Regions from separate parts of the Homo sapiens genome. Here regions 1, 2, 3, 4 and 6 are each linked to region 5. Evidence: promoter capture Hi-C in 16 types of primary human blood cells and fetal thymus (Javierre and others, 2016). All regions are on one chromosome and are shown on one strand. The core of a region is centred on a gene start or on the middle of the fragment in contact, and the rest is flanking DNA. Distances in the headings are between cores, read along the strand shown.

Evidence for each region. Contacts are between HindIII fragments. The CHiCAGO score rates a contact against its expected background, and 5 or more counts as called.
Region 1: a fragment that was not itself captured here is called in contact with the fragment with the promoter of GJB2 in region 5 in 4 of 17 cell types (M2 macrophages, megakaryocytes, neutrophils and 1 more); the score reaches 6.3 in M2 macrophages.
Region 2: a fragment that was not itself captured here is called in contact with the fragment with the promoter of GJB2 in region 5 in 1 of 17 cell types (M2 macrophages); the score reaches 6.3 in M2 macrophages.
Region 3: a contact is called between a fragment that was not itself captured here and the fragment with the promoter of GJB2 in region 5, in 1 of 17 cell types (M2 macrophages). The highest score is 5.0, in M2 macrophages.
Region 4: a contact is called between a fragment that was not itself captured here and the fragment with the promoter of GJB2 in region 5, in 4 of 17 cell types (endothelial precursors, M0 macrophages, megakaryocytes and 1 more). The highest score is 8.3, in endothelial precursors.
Region 6: a fragment that was not itself captured here is called in contact with the fragment with the promoter of GJB2 in region 5 in 3 of 17 cell types (M1 macrophages, total CD8 T cells and M0 macrophages); the score reaches 7.5 in M1 macrophages.

What each region holds. Positions count from the first base shown.
Region 1 is chr13:20,864,605-20,867,304 of GRCh38, forward strand. The region is part of intron 2 of XPO4 (exportin 4); the gene reads right to left. Among named protein-coding and RNA genes, the nearest start is that of XPO4, 37 kb to the right of the region's middle. The HindIII fragment of the contact is 5,438 bases long and covers 1-2,700 here.
Region 2 is chr13:20,910,126-20,912,825 of GRCh38, forward strand. No RefSeq gene overlaps it. Among named protein-coding and RNA genes, the nearest start is that of XPO4, 8.7 kb to the left of the region's middle. The HindIII fragment of the contact is 3,898 bases long and covers 1-2,700 here.
Region 3 is chr13:20,846,672-20,849,371 of GRCh38, forward strand. All of the region lies in intron 4 of XPO4 (exportin 4), which reads right to left. Among named protein-coding and RNA genes, the nearest start is that of XPO4, 55 kb to the right of the region's middle. The HindIII fragment of the contact is 3,357 bases long and covers 1-2,700 here.
Region 4 is chr13:20,935,195-20,937,894 of GRCh38, forward strand. No RefSeq gene overlaps it. Among named protein-coding and RNA genes, the nearest start is that of LINC00367, 13 kb to the right of the region's middle. The HindIII fragment of the contact is 1,868 bases long and covers 319-2,186 here.
Region 5 is chr13:20,191,510-20,194,209 of GRCh38, forward strand. GJB2 (gap junction protein beta 2) reads right to left here and starts at 1,429. Exons shown (of 2, transcript NM_004004.6): 1 at 1,274-1,429. The HindIII fragment of the contact is 5,188 bases long and covers 887-2,700 here.
Region 6 is chr13:20,788,469-20,791,168 of GRCh38, forward strand. It overlaps XPO4 (exportin 4), which reads right to left. Exons shown (of 23, transcript NM_022459.5): 19 at 1,994-2,112; 20 at 18-148. Among named protein-coding and RNA genes, the nearest start is that of EEF1AKMT1, 16 kb to the left of the region's middle. The HindIII fragment of the contact is 2,297 bases long and covers 234-2,530 here.

The sequences.
Region 1 (2,700 bases), core at 173-2,672, 670 kb after region 5:
ACATGCCACTGAAGATAGAGCGAATAAGCACTTTCATTGTTAATGATCACTGAAACATTCCTAACTATTTGTTTTTACATCCAAGCCTTTTTCTGCCCTTTGGAGGTGGGTGGGTGTTGGATGTGAGGGGGCAGTTATAGAAGATGAATATTCAAAATTTTCAAGACACAAAAGTTTCTTAATTCTTTTTCTTAGACCTCTGCATGGTATTAAATGATGATCTCTAAATGACTACTCCCATAAGAAGCTGACTCTAAGAATGGAGGAATAAAAAAAAAAAAAGCCAAATTCCTAATTTAAAAGAAGAAATTTTCCTAAACTAATAAATTACCCTTTCTCATAAAAACCATTATTAGCTGTCATAAATTTAACTTATACATAGTAGAAATATGCAAGAGATGCTAGAAGGTACTCTCGAAGCCTACCAGTATGAAATTAGAACTTCACAAATACATATGAGCTTTACTTTCGCTCTCTGTTACAAAGATGCCTGAAACTACAGGGTTTTCATGAAGAACTCACAATTCATCTAGCATTTTTTTTTTTTTTTTGAGATGGAGTTTTGCTCTTGTTACTGAGACTAGAATGCAATGGCGCAATCTCGGCTCACCACAACCTCTGCCTCCCGGGTTCAAGTGATTCTCCTGCCTCAGCCTCCCGAGTAGCTGGGAATACAGGCATGTGCCACCACACCGGCTAATTTTGTATTTTTAGTAGAGACAGGGTTTTTCCATGTTGGTCAGGTTGGTCTCAAACTCCCAACCTCAAGTGATCCACCCACCTCAGCCTCCCAAAGTGCTGGGATTACAGGTGTGAGCCACCACACCCAGCCTCATCTAGAATTTCTAAACTACTTCTGGGAAGATCTGCCACTGACTAGGACACTGTCCAGAGAATAAATTATTTTAGGTCACTTTAGCAAAATGCTTTCATCTGCTACCACAGTAACTTTCTTTAATAATAATTATGTAAATAAAATTCATTTGAATTTTGTCAGCCATCTGAAACTAAACAGAAACATGAAGACAAAAGTTAAAGTTAATAATACAGGAAAAGCACTACATTCTGACCAAAAAGTTTTTTTAAAAAAGAAAAAACCCCGGTAGTGAAGCCACAGATATACAGCTACTACAATCAACTCTCTGGCCTTAAGTATTTCTGTCCAAAGCACAGGCAATATAAGCTCCAAGTCTACTCTTTGACTCAGTGATACCTATGCCCACCAACTAATGACAAAAAGTCTCAGATGGAAGATGATTTATTAATTCCCAGTGACTGACAGCACTACTAAGGAAACAATTTTCCAGAGGTGTAAAAGTTTACTAGTTTAACTGACTTTTTGGTGGTTTATTATTTTGTTTTGTTTTGGCACTTGTGAGATCAGAAGTGAAAGAAATCCATTTCTCCCTGAGAAAGAGTAAAAGAATGCCACAAAGTTAGCTCCAGAAGAAGTAAGCCAATCCCTCACAGTTCTTGATTATTTCTTTAACAAGAACAGAACTCACTTGTTTTTTTAAAGGAACATTTGATCCTAAAAAATTTAAATTACTAAGTGCCAAAGACTTCTGAAGTGAAGAAGTCTAAAAGTGCTCTTCTGACAAAATGCACAAGCATGCCACATGCATGCACAGATACACCACACACACACACAGAAAAGAGCAAAGAAAATAAAAACTAGAATGAAAACAAAAGGATAAGAAGAGAAAGAAATGAGGAAAAATGAGCAACATATAAAACTCAAGTTAGAAGTGAGAAGGAAGAATTTTAAGAGGCCAGAAAAGGGAAGCATCAAAGAAAGTCTCCCCTTTAGTAGAATATATTACCCAGACCTTCTATAAAAATGACACATAATCCCTAAACAAGAATGTGAAAATTCTGAACTGCGATTGACTGCCACTTGTATGAGAAGTCTTCTTAGAGGAATTTACCCTTCTGTGCTGGTGGCAACTGAATAAGGAGTGAAAAGATTTTCTGTGAAGTTTAGATGTAAACATTAATGTAACACAGGGCTTTGCAGTACATTAATGATTATGCTTGTAATACATGCACTCCACCTTTTAAATAGTCAGTGTCTCAAAACCCAAACTCATTTTAAAAGCATGGCCAGAACTAGCAATACTACTCTTTAGAAAATTTTATCAGGAAAACAAAAGTATTCCAAAACAAGCTCAATCATAACAAAGCAACAATACTTCATAAAATATACATATTCTAAAAAGGAAAGAATGGTATAAACAAATACACTCTAATAAAATACTTGTAAGTTAGATCAACTATTTCCCAACTAGTGTACAATGACACTGAATTCCAATAGAAAGTCAGATGAAACACTGATGGAATCCTAGTCAATGTCGTTAAGGCATATGCCATGAAAACCAGACTCAAATTATTTTAGGTTAATAGTTTAACACAACGGTTTTCTAAATCTATTAATGCTGAACAATTTCAAGGCAGTAAGGATGAATTAATGCTTCCTTAAACTCTTTATGCCGTTTAGTTTTGCTTCCTTTAACATTGAGTTAAATATCCTCCACAGGTATATGTTAAATCTTCTTAGTGCCAGAAACGAATCCACACAACTATAAAAGCTGACCACTGAAATAAGTAAATTAATTAAAATGGCTTCAGTGAGAATTTAAAAGGTAGTTGTTGAACCTGTTCCTCTGCTAAGACCTAACTCCTAAATGAGACAGAGCCACC
Region 2 (2,700 bases), core at 143-2,642, 720 kb after region 5:
TGCAGTGGCGCGATCTCGGCTTACTACAAGCTCCACCTCCCAGGTTCACGCCATTCTCCTGCCTGAGCCTCCTGAGTAGCTGGGCCTACAGGCACCCGCCACCATGTCCAGTTAATTTTTTGTATTTTTAGTAGAGATGGGGTTTCACCATGTTAGCCAGGATGGTCTTGATCTCTGACCTCGTGATCTGCCTGCCTCTGCCTCCCAAAGTGCTGGGATTACAGGCGCGAGCCACCGCACCCGGTGGAAATGGGATTTGAAATCACACAATTTCTTTTCTAATCATGGTGAAATAAAACTAGAAATTAATGGCATAAGGAAAATGGAAAATTAGTACATATGTGGAAATTAAACAACACACTGTAACTTTTTTTTCTATTTTTTCCCCTTTTTTTTGCTTTTTTTTTATTTTTTATTTTTTTTTTATTGGGCAGTCCCTGGCCGGGCATGGTGGCTCACACCTGTAATCCCAGCACTTTGGGAGGCCGAGATGGGCAGATCACTTGAGGTCAGGAGTTTGAGACCAGCCTGGCCAACATGGTGAAAACTCATCTCTACTAAAAATACAAAAAAAGTTAGCTGGGCACGTTGGCGCGGGCCTGTAGTCCCAGCTACTCCAGAGGCTGAGGCAGGAGAATCGCTTGAACCCGGGAGGCAGAGGTTGCAGTGAGCTGAGATCGCACCACTGCACTCTAGCCTGGGCAACAGGGCAAGACTCCATCTCAAAAAAAAAAAAAAAGAAAAAACTTGGGCAGCCCCCAAACAAGAATAGACTCTGAGAGACTCCCAAATGACACACTTTTAAACAACCAAAGAGTCAAAGAAGAAATCACAAGGGAAATTAGAAAATATCCTGAGATAAATCAAAATAAAAACACAACATACCAAAAGTTATGGGATGCAGCAAAAGCAATACTAAGAGGAAATTTATTTATAAATGTTGGGAGCCGAAAAGACCAAAGGGATCGTGACCAACTCAGCATTCCACTGGAGGCTATATGATCAAACAGCCAACTGTTTATCATGAATGCAGGATGTGGGCAGACTCAGCGACTGTGCCTACCGCCAGAAGGTTTGCTGAGGGCAATCACTCCCTGGTGCTGTGCTCATTGAGGTTATCTACTGGGACATCTAGAGCTTATTGTTTGAAGAATGCAGTCTTGCAAGCCAGCTGTAAATCAAGCTGCTGACCAACCACTGCCTCCTCCCTGTGTCCTTTACTCAATAAAATGCGAAGGGCTCTAAAGCTCAGGGCCCTTGTTCACTAGAAGCAAGGACCGCCTCCTCCCAACCCCTTCTTCCAAATATACTCTTTTGCCTTTATCTTTATTCCCAAGTTCGTCATCCTTTGTTCAGTCCAACAGGGATAGGGTCCACAGCAACAACAAACACATTTAAAAAGAAGAAAGTTGTCAAGTCAACAACCTAACATTATACCTTAAGGAACTAGAAGAAGAAGAACAAACTAAACCTAAAGCTAGCAGAAGGAAAAAAATAAACATTAAGCAGAGATAAATGAAATCGAGAATGGGAACCAATAGAGAGAATCAATAAAACCAAGAATTTGTTCTTTGAAAGGATCAACAAAATTGACAAACTTAACTAGATTAAGAATAAAAAAGAGATAGGCTGGGTGGGCGTGGTGGCTCATGTCCGTAATCCGAGCACTTTGGTAGGCTGAGGCAGGAGTTTGAGACCAGCCTGACCAACATAGTGGCCAAATCCCATTTCTACCGAAAATACAAAATTAGCTGGGTGTGGTGGCAGGTGCCTGTAGTCCCAGCTACTCGGGAGGCTGAGGTGGGAGAATCGCTTGGACTCGGGAGGCAGAGGTTACAGTGAGCCGAGACTGCGACATTGCACTCCAGCCTGGGTGACAGAGTGAGACACCATCTCAAAAAAATAAATAAATAAAAATAAAAGAGAGAACCCCGCTAGGCATGGTGGCGCACAGCTGTAATCCCAGCAGTTTGGGAGGCCAAGGTGAGAAGATTGCTTGAGCCCAGGAGTTAGAGATCAGCCTGAGCAACATGGTGAAATCCCATCTCTACAAAAAATACAAAATTTAGCCAGGCATGCTGATGTGTGCCTGTAGTTCCAGCTACTGAAGAGGCTGAGGCAGGAGAATCGCTTGAGCCCAGGAGGCAGAGGTTGCAGTGATCTGAGATCATGCTACTGTACTCAAGCCTGAGTGACACAGCAAGACCTTGTGTCAAAAAAAAAAAAAAAAAAAAAAAAAAAGAAGGCTGGGCCTGGTGGCTCACGCCTGTAATCCCAGCACTTTGGGAGGCCAAGGCAGCTGGCTCACGAGGTCAGGAGATCGAGACCATCCTGGCTAACATGGTGAAACCCCGACTCTACTAAAAATACAAAAAAATTAGCCAGGTGCAGTGTTGGGCACCTGTAGTCCCAGCTACTCGGGAGGCTGAGGCAGGAGAATGGCGTGAACCCAGGAGGCAGAGCTTGCAGTGAGCCAAGATCATGCCACTGTACTGGAGCCTGGGAGACAGAATGAGACTCTGTCTCAAAAAAAAAAGAAAGAAAGAAAGGAGAGGCTGAGTGCAGTGGCTCATGCCTATAATCCTAGCACTTTGGGAGGCCGATGCGGGCAGATCACTTGAGGTCAGGTGTTCAAGACCAGCCTGGCCAAAATGGTGAAACCCCGTCTGTACTAAAAATACAAAAATTAGCTGAGCGTGG
Region 3 (2,700 bases), core at 32-2,531, 660 kb after region 5:
AATCGTAGAAAAGCACAACGAAAATAAAATTGTCTACAATCCTACCATCCAGGAGTTATTACTGTAACATTTATAGCTTTCCAATTTTTTGATGCACAGATATAAATTTTTATATATCATTGATATAAACCCAAATATAGTTTTACATTCTACTTTTCCACTTTATACCTATGAAATAAAAAGAAAAAAATTTAAAAACAAATGTGTTCTATTTAAATATACCACTTAAAGACTTAAGAAATACATAAAAATAAATTATTGTACAGCATTGTTAGAGGTATTGCAAGAAATCAAATATTCTGGCTTTAACTGTACCTACGATTATCAGCTTCCAAAGAACTAAAATTCAATAGGATATTTTCATCATTAAAATATACCAAATAGTATAAGCTCTCCTTAATTTGGAAATCCTGTAGGAATATGAGATTACCATCATAAATATTAATCATACTACACTAGTCTGGCTCAAAGGTGCCAAATGAATAGAGACTCCTGGGGAATGATGAATAATTAAACATTGATTATACATTAAGAGAGCAAAGTACTTCAACACATATCAACAAAGTATTTCTCCCTATTCATAGGGGAATTAAACATATCACTAAATGTCTAGGACTCACTTCTAAATATGTTTGCTCATTTTCAATATTTAATTATGGATTAAATCCCCTTAAAATGAAGTTACTCTCACATTGTGGGTTGTAATGAAGATAGCTAGGGAAGCAAGCCAAAAATAAAACTCCCAAGGGAGAACAGAGGACAGCTTCTTCCCAGGAAAGAGAGAGGAAAGAAAAAAAATTAAAGCATCAAATCTGCCTAAAGGAGATCACCAGCTTCAGCTTTTCTTACCCTTAAAGAATGTTCTTATCTGCCTCCTTCAGACTGTTAGGTCTCAATGGGCATTCCGAGTGCACTACCCCCTAACTCACCCTCTACTGACCAGTATCTTCAAGTGCTGCCTCTCTGGCCTTTGTCAAAGTCAGAGCTAGATATTTTTCCATATCAGAGACAGTGGCTCTGATACTTAAGACAGCCGGAAACAAAAGCTGTAGTAATTAATGTCAGTGAATTCGGATCAAAGTTGACTAACTAACTAATTGATAAAAGACTGCCATACTAAAATACACAGGAATTTGCCCAGTATAAAATACAAATCTTAAGACTTCTAAGAGGTTAATACAACAATACTTCACTTATCTAAGATCATGAAGAATTAAGTTAATATGTTAATTTTGTAAATGCAGCAAGCAAACATTTTTAATGAAACGTCCTATAAATTTTTCTTAAGGAATTATTTCTATGGCAATTATATGATATTATACTTAAGTGACTACTTGGAAGCTACTAAAACATAAGGGGCCTTCCACCCGTTGGCAACGTGGTGCCAGATCCCAATGCTTGTTGATTTATGTCTGCTTCATAGCTTTTCTCAATCATCCTTTGTTGTTGTCTATCATTCACTGCTGCTGGCAATTTGACTGCCACTAACAGGTAGTTCTAAATGGATCATTTTCATTTGCTCACAGGTTAGAAACCAAATAAAATTTATTAAAATTACATCTAAAATAAATGATAAATAAAAACATTCTGCAGGACTCTTTCAGGAGTCCAATACAAGAATCCTGTTGTTTGAATCAGTTAGAAAATCTGGGCTCTAACAGTCCAAGATTTCCTTCTTCAAATAACTGTGGTCAAAGCCCTTCATGTACCTTGACCTCAGCTTTCTCATCTACAGTAAGGGCTACCACCCTCTGCCATACCTAATTTGCATAATTGTCCTAAGGCTCAAATTGCATAATGCTTAAAAATACCATGTAATTACACCAGGTTACAAGAAGGTAAAGTAGCAGCTGTATTTTTTATCATTATCATAGAAAATGACAACCACCTATTTCAGCTTTATTCTATTCCTTGATGATGATCTACATTCTGCAAAATTAAAATTACTAAATGTGTTACACCACTTAAAAAACAGAGCTATAACTGAAGCTGTATCACTAAAGCAATATAGTAAATGTTCAGTAAATGCTGTTTGGATTAATGAATCAGTGTTTACTTCTATGCCCAGCACTATGTTAACATAACAGAAGTTGGAAAATAAATGATGTGTTCCCTATTTTTTGGTTGTTTATAAATTTCTACAAGACAATTTTAATATGTCAAACAAGTAGAAGACAATGCAATGAGGTGTCAAAGTTATAAAAAAAAGTCTAATTGTCTTCTTTCATTGAAGTACTGAAAATTCACAAGTTAATTCACTGGCTAACAATTTAAGTAACTCTTATCTTCACATTGAAAGTCTTAGACCAGCATTCTCATTTATTTCTAGCAAAAGCCATTAATTTCAAGCTAGTGAAAAAATGCCCTTCAGAGATAGCTTGCCTTACTCACCAGCTTACTGTCACAAGCCCAAGATACTCAAACACTAACTCCAGCTGACAAAATAAAATACTCTTGTTCAGAGAGAGGATTGTCTCTTATAATAGCCTGGCTCTTACCCCAGGAGCTTTATTACCAAGAATAAACTTTATGAAAGGTTGCCATACATAAAGCAGACTTCCAGCTGCTCTTCTATGCAAACATCAATGAGACTTATGATAAGAGAGATTAACTTGGCTATCACATCCAGGGGCTGCCGTAGACAAGTGAATTTCTCACCCACTTCTCTCTAGTATGGCAAAGAGGAAGAAAGGAGACTTA
Region 4 (2,700 bases), core at 3-2,502, 740 kb after region 5:
CAGCTTCACTTTTCCGTCTTTCCTGACATTTCTGGTATTGGAGAAAGAAAAAAAAAAACCATGGAAAGGGAAATAATAGGCACTGGGGGACTCCAAAGGGGGAGAGGATGGGAGGGATTTCATGTTGAAAAATGACCTATTGCATAGAAGATTCATTATTTTAGTGATGGGTGCACTAGAAACTCAAACCTCACCATTCCACGTTATATCCATGTAACAAACATGCACATGTATGCCCTGAATAATGATAATAAGAGCATGGGAGACAGAGGTCTTATGTGACTGCCTGCCAACTGCACATCCAAGATCCAGACTTGAAGCTTATAAATATGTATAAAATGTTGGGCTCAGGAGTGGTGGCTCACGCCTATAATCTCAGCACTTTGGGAGGTGAAGGCAAGCGGATCACTTGAGGCCAGGAGTTGGAGGCCAGCCCAGGCAATGTAGCAAGAGCCTGTCTCTACAAAACCTAAAAAAAATTAGCTGGACTTTATGGCATGCACCTGTAGTCCCCAGCTACTGGGGAGGCTGAGGCAAGAGGATCACTTGAGCCTGGGAGTTTGAGGTTACAGTGAGCTATGACTGTGCCACCACACTCCAGCCTAGGCAAGAGAGTGAAAAAGGGCCGGGCGTGGTGGCTCACACCTGTAATCCCAGCACTTTGGGAGGCCGAGGCAGGTGGATCACGAGGTCAGGAGATCGAGACCATCCTGGCTAACATGGTGAAACCCCGTCTCTACTAAAAATACAAAAAATTAGCCGGGCGTGGTGGAGGGCACCTGTAGTCCCAGCTACTCAGGAGGCTGAGGCAGAAGAATGGTGTGAACCTGGGATGAGGAGCTTGCGGTGAGCCGAGATCGTGCCACTGCACTCCAGCCTGGGCAACAGAGCAAGACTCTTGTCTAAAAAAAAATAGAGAGAGTGAAAAAAATAGCCAGGTACAGTGGCTCATGCCTGTAATTTCAGCACTTTGGGAGGCCGAGGCAGGAGAATCACTTGAGGCTAGGAGGTGGAGGCCACATTGACCTATGATCGCATCACTGCACTACAGCATGGGCAGCAGAGTGATACCTTGTCTCAAAAAAAAAAAAAAAAAAAAAAAAAAAGGCCGGGCATGGTGGCTCACACCTGTAATCCCAGCATTTTGGGAGGCTGAGGCGGAAGGATCATTTGAGGTTAGGAGTTCGAAACCAGCCTGGCCAACATGGTGAAACCCTATTTCTACTAAAAATACAAAAAAAAAATTACCCAGGCGTGGTGGTGGGTGCCTGTAATCCCAGCTACTTGGGAGGCTGAGGCAGGAGAATTGCTTGAGCCCGGGAGGCAGAGGTTGCAGTTAGCTGAGATCGCACAACCATTGCACTCCAGCCTGGGTGACAGAGCAAGACTTAGTCTCAAAAAAATGTTGGACACCTTTGAGTATTAACATAGATTATCCAGGTGAAGGGCACTGAGCTTAAACTTCATCACCTCATGGTAAGTTCCCTGTGCAAAGCTGGCAGCAAGGTTCTTGTGAGTGTCCCTGCCTCTGTGGCTAATGCTAACTGACATGGGCTATGTGAGGCGACCCCTCAAATACTGGAACTTCCATAGGTGCATGTGGAGGGGCTTTTGGGAGGGTTCTGGGAGGAGTGGATCTGCCCGACATGGGTAAGCTGCCTCCATTCCCACTGTCTTCACGGTCACTCAACTGACACGCTCTTACTCACTCCCTGTTCTTCATCTCTTCCAAGGTTTCTTCCCCTGCTTGGGGGACACAGTTGTCCTAATCAACAGCTGAGGCTGAGCCCAAGTCCAACCAGGAGACAGAAGAGTTTCTGTTGGCTGGGGAGGTGAGAAGGCTGGAGAGCTGATTGCGGATCTTGCCTTTCTCGGAAAGCCCAGAGGGGTCTCTAAGGTTCCCAGACACTTCACATTTTTTGTCCAGGGCTTTTGGTTTCAGCTGCAATTCTGGAACATGGGAAAAAAGAAAATCCACATAACATTCTGTTGTACATTTATTCAAAATACAGAAAAGAAATATTTAAAGAATAAAATAAAGATAACATTCACAAGAGGAACCATGAAATTAACCCTCTCCTGGGAGTATACACTGGAAATCAATTTGGAAATATATAACAAGAGCATTAAAAATGTTCTTAAGAATATAATTAAAGATGCAGAAAAAGATTATGTACTCATGATAAAGCTTATACAAGGAAAAGAAAAAGATCATGTATAAAGATATGCAATATGATGTTATTTACAAGGTATATTTACATTTTAAATTATTTAAAATAGGAAATAACCTAAATTTCCAATAACAAGTAAATGGTTAATTAATTTGGGCTATATCATCATAATGGAATATCATATAGCCATTCAAAGCCATTGTTTTATGAGTTTTAGTGACAGGGAAAATGATTACTATAGGTGTCTGTTCACTGTGTTTTCAAAGTGTCCTAAATTTTCTTTTTTTTTTTTTTTTTGAGACGGAGTCTCGATCTGTTGCCCAGGCTGGAGTGCAGTGGCGTGATCTCGACTCACTGCAAGCTCCGCCTCCCAGGTTCATGCCATTCTCCTGCCTCAGCCTCTCCGAGTTGCTGGGACTACAGGCGCCCACCACCACACCCGGCTAATTTTTTATATTTTTAGTAGAGATGGGGTTTCACCATGGTCTCGATCTCCTGACCTCGTGATCTGCCCGCCTCCACCTCCCAA
Region 5 (2,700 bases), core at 179-2,678:
GATCCTTTTTCAGGAAGAGGAGTAAATTAAGATTTACTCCCCAATGGGCTAGGGGGTCATGGGTTAAGAGGGGCTCAGAAGCAGGACGAAGTTGTTTTCAATATTCAAGTCAGAGGAGGAGCTGCCCTCCTGGCCTCCCGACCCTGGGCGGTTACATGCAGCTTCCTACCGGGCCCACGCCATCCTGCACCGCCTGGAGGGCTGCCAGAGGCCAGCGGAGGAGTTGGTTCAGTTCCTTAGGGAAGACACTAGGTGAATCACCAGGATCCAGAAAAGGCAAAAGGGACTCTTCACCCCTTAAATTTCTCCACCCTTAGGTGATGGGTGGTCGACCTTGCCTGGCTGTCCCCAGAGGGTTCCTCCACCCTTCTCACCAGTGTCTGAAATTGTGACCGACTGTGCACAGCAGTTTCGAAAGGGACTCTAAGGTCACATGGGGACACGGCCGTACCACGCTTCTCAAGGCAGTCCCAGGTGCATGGCCACGGAACCCAGCTCTCAGCAGCTGTTAGTTAGGTGAGCGCTGTTCGGGCTGCCTTCCTCCTCCAGTGGGGCAGGATCGAGGCACTGATGGAACCGTCCTGAGGACGCGGGTCTCAGCCGCACACCACCTCTTCGCGAACAAGGGTCCTAAAAATTTTCCTTCTAGGCGGGGAGCACAGCCCGGAAACAGACCCTCGTGAAGTGTTTAGGAAAAAGGGAAGCCACTGAAATCTTGGCCCCGGGGTAGGCCGGGATCGGCTGGCTCCGCGTTAGTTCTAGGCAAACTCCGCCCAAATCTCTGCCCGGGGATTTTTCTGCAGAAGCCGCTCCAAGAGGTAAAGGTCAGTTCCTGCAGCGAAGGCTTCCTGCTTCACCGGCGAAACGGAGCTTTGCTTCGAAGCTAAGCTTTCGGTGAATTTAAAACGTTTGGTGGCAGTGGGTCAAGTAGCCAGGCGGCTGCGCTAGAGTACCCCGAAGGGACATCGGCGACACCACAAACCTCGCGCTGGCGGCTCGCCCGCGCCTTTTTCCCCTCCCGCGCGCGCCCGGCCCCACTCGCACCCCGGGCGGTGCCATCGCGTCCACTTCCCCGGCCGCCCCATTCCAGCTCCGGAGCTCGGCCGCAGAAACGCCCGCTCCAGAAGGCGGCCCCCGCCCCCCGGCCCAAGGACGTGTGTTGGTCCAGCCCCCCGGTTCCCCGAGACCCACGCGGCCGGGCAACCGCTCTGGGTCTCGCGGTCCCTCCCCGCGCCAGGTTCCTGGCCGGGCAGTCCGGGGCCGGCGGGCTCACCTGCGTCGGGAGGAAGCGCGGCGGGGCCGGGGCGGGGGTCTCGGCGTTGGGGTCTCTGCGCTGGGGCTCCTGCGCTCCTAGGCGGGTCCTGGGCCGGGCGCCGCCGAGGGGCTCCGAGTCGGGGAGAGGAGCGCGCGGGCGCTGCGGGGCCGCAACACCTGTCTCCCGCCGTGGCGCCTTTTAACCGCACCCCACACCCCGCCTCTTCCCTCGGAGACTGGGAAAGTTACGGAGGGGGCGGCGCCGCGGGCGGAGCGCGCCCGGCCTCTGGGTCCTCAGAGCTTCCCGGGTCCGCGAACCCCCGACCGCCCCCGAAAGCCCCGAACCCCCCAAGTCCCCTTCGAGGTCCCGATCTCCTAGTTCCTTTGAGCCCCCATGAGTTCCCCAAGTGCCCCCAGCGCCCTGAGTCTCCCCCGGTTACCCCGAGCGCCGCCTCCCCCAGCCCCTTGGCGGCCCGGGTGAAGCGGGGGCGGCTGAGAGTCGGGACCCCCCAGGAAGCGGCGCCCCAGACCCCGGCTCCGGCGCTGTGCCGTGGGCGGGGTTCAGGGATGGCTGTGGTCGTTGTCCTCTGTACTCCGCATAGTGCGAGAGGACTTGGCATTTATGAGCGCTTCTTTAATTTTTTATTGTTAGAGAAACAGGCATTCCTCCAAGGACTGAAGATCTGTTCGAGTCGCGGAGGCTGCGCGGGCCCGCGAGGCTCTCGCAGGGGGACCTAGGCTGGGTGGCGGGGCAGTGCCCTCTGGAATGGGGGTTAACGGTGGCCGAGGAGGGGGCGCCGCTGGTGCCGGCGAAGTCCCCGCTTCTTTCTCCCCTCAAAATCTCACCAATCCGAACGAACGCCTTCTCGAATTTCCGATTTTATTCAATTACTTTCAACAATGTGCCAAGGACTAAGGTTGGGGGCGGTGGGAGAGACAAGCCTCGTTTTTGCCATGGCCGGCAGGGGGGTCCCGCCATCTGCGGAGGGTGCCCCCCGCGGCCCCCGGCCCAGCCAACTTCCTCCTCTTTTCGCAACTGGGGAACTGCAAGGAGGTGACTCCTTTCGGGGTGAGGAGGCCCAGACTTTTCAGAAAGGAAAGAGGGCAGGTAAAACCTGCCAAGCCCCTTCCTGCTCGATGCACACAGCACGAAAGGGGGAAACTGATAGGATTCTGCGGAAGACCGCTGGGGGGCTGGCTCTGCACTGCACACCTGCTGGGGGCTTTCTGGATACCGTGAAACTTTGTCTCAGATTATGAGGTCTCAGTATTTGCATTTGGTTGGGGATTTTGATGTCTTGCGATACAAATGACAGAAGACAGATTTGCACAGCGCAAGCGGATGAGGGACTAAGATGTGCAGAGCAGGCTGGGTGGGGACTCCCGGGGAGGTCTCCCCCAACCCCCGCCCCACCTCGGGCACCCACTTCGCGATTTTTGCAGAGG
Region 6 (2,700 bases), core at 132-2,631, 600 kb after region 5:
GTTCATTTAAAGGATATGATGTCATTCCTAATTCTAGGGAGTACATCAGACTTTTAAACAGATCCTCAGGAAGCTGTGGTATTTTTTCAGGAAAAATCTCACAGATAAATGTGATTAATTTGTAGTACTGATTACAAAGGGTTGGAAACTGAAAAAGAAATATTCAATTATTTGGATGCTCATTAGTATCCAATTTCTATTTTCATCAATGCAATAAAATAAAGTAACTGACAAGCTTCTAAATATAATGATTTCTTTAAAACATGTACAAGATATAGAAAACATGAAGACCAAATTAAATGTAAAAACAGGTACAAATAAAGGGCATATTTTAGTAACTACTATGAAACAAAGTAACAGACAGTCAAAACAATTATCTTCTAGATAGTTAATAAAATCTAAGGTCAATTCCTGATATTCTGTGTTTACCCGGAAAAAGTAAACAAGGCAGCCAGATTTAAAATTATTAAATAACTTAGGAGTAAAACCTTTTTGTAAATGTATTTCCATTCAAGCATGCTGAAAAAATTCAAGAAGGTTAATACAAATTGTTAAGACTATGCACAGAGCAGAGTATTCGGTCTTTACACTTCCAAAAACATTTTTCCAGTTGTACTATCCTAGAGAACTGAGGTAAAAGTAAGTAATCTGGTTTAACCACACTTAAGAAAAATACACACTTAAATGTTTAATGGCTTATTTGTTTAAACAAACCCTAAATGCAAATCAATATGGAGAGTTGACTAAACTTCCTCATCCTGCTGGCTGGCTGCTGTGTGAATGCCATGGGTCATCAACATTGTTTCCAATAGTTAGAGACGCTCTCAAGGAGGGGGAAGCACACGGTTAGATCCTGCTATGCTGGCAATCAAACAGGACTCATTCTTCTCGTATGTACTCACCTTCTGGACACTTCTCAGCCTCTACTTTTTTTTTTTTTTTTTGAGACAGAGTCTCGCTCTGTCACCTAGGCTGCAGTGCAGTGGCACAATCTTGGCTCACTGCAAGCTCCGCCTCCCGGGTTCACGCCATTCTCCTGCCTCAGCCTCCTGAGTAGCTGGGACTACAGGCGCCCACCACCACACCCGGCTTTTTTTTTGTGTGTGTGTGTGTGTATTTTTAGTAGAGGCGGGGTTTCACCATGTTAGCCAGGATGGTCTCGATCTCCTGACTTCGTGATCCACCCACCTCGGCCTCCAAAAGTGCTGGGATTACAAGCGTGAGCCACTGCGCCCGGCCCAGCCTCTACTATCTTACTTCCTCCTACTCCTTGTCTTTATCTCGTGTGTGTGTGCACACGCATGCATGCATGCACATGTGCACATACACACACAAACTCCTCCTTTCCTTTCCACCCATGTCCTCATCCCCACCCTTATCCTGCTATGACAACTCATGACAAGAGACCTCCCTCTGTGGTACTTACGGATGGTAGAAAAAAGTTGCCTCACCGCCACCACACCCTCAATATTAACTGACAAAACCAAGGCATAATGTAGTCAGAATGTGCAAAAACTTTAAAACAGCATCAGTCTTGGAAGCATACCATCCCATTTTTACATGGTGCCCCTTGGAAAATGCCTTCCTTTGCTCAATCCCTTAACTTGAGAATGATGTTCAGAAAGTATCAGAGGAAAACACTGAAACTTTTAACTTACTTTATTCCCTTAGTGACAAATTATGAGGTAATCAAAACTGCTAACAGAATGTACTTTCTAAAAGGACAGGCTCCTTTCTGTAGCACTCCCTGACAAAACGAGTCACTAATGTATGGGTGCCTGCAGGACTTTGGGGCAGAAACAGAGACTAAGTAAGGGCCCATGTTACTGAGAAGCATGCACAAGTAACCGTTAATGAAAATACAAAAATTGTATCTTCATGTGCACTTAGCAGATACAACTACTAAATTAAATCACAGATATATTCTTGTCTAAAGTATCTTTGAACTTCAGTTACACATAGTGGTATGTTCACATTCAATTTCATTAATTACCTTCAAGAGATCCTGTGACATCAAGGGCAGAATTAGGTTTACTCCATACAACACAACATCCGCTGCTGACACAGATCTGTTTGCTGCTTGACCTGGCTCATGTCCTCTAAACACTTCATCTATTAAAATAAAAGGATGCAGGCTTATGGTGGTAACATCAATAAATCTTCCAAGTGTGTATTCTACCCTTATGAAAATAAACTCACCCCTAGAGGCTAAATAAATCAATGAGTGAATAATAAAGAATCTGACCTCGTCCTGCCTGGTCTCTGGTGAGGGGATGGAGGAGACAGCACATCCAGGGGTGAAAAAAAGATCTGAGACCCCAGCCCTGTGTCATCCTTTTGAGTTTTATTAGGGGATATGAGTACTTGATACAGAAGTATTGGGGAGGTTAAGAGCAGGGGACAGTCTAGAAATAAAACTAATGCTTAATCAATGTTTTGAAATATAAAATCTACTGGCATACTAGCCATAATGAGTTAAACAATTTCTATAGAAATATCCATTTGATTTCAAGTGTGTATAATATTTCTAAGCTTAAAAGGAATGCGAGAAATACAGAAATTAAAATGTTACATAAAAAAGAAAGTAGTTTAAAAAAGAACAACCAATATGACAAAGGGTTATCATTCTTAATACATATGAATTATATATATATATAAATTAATGAGAATACTAAGACCTAAACAGATAAATTAACATCT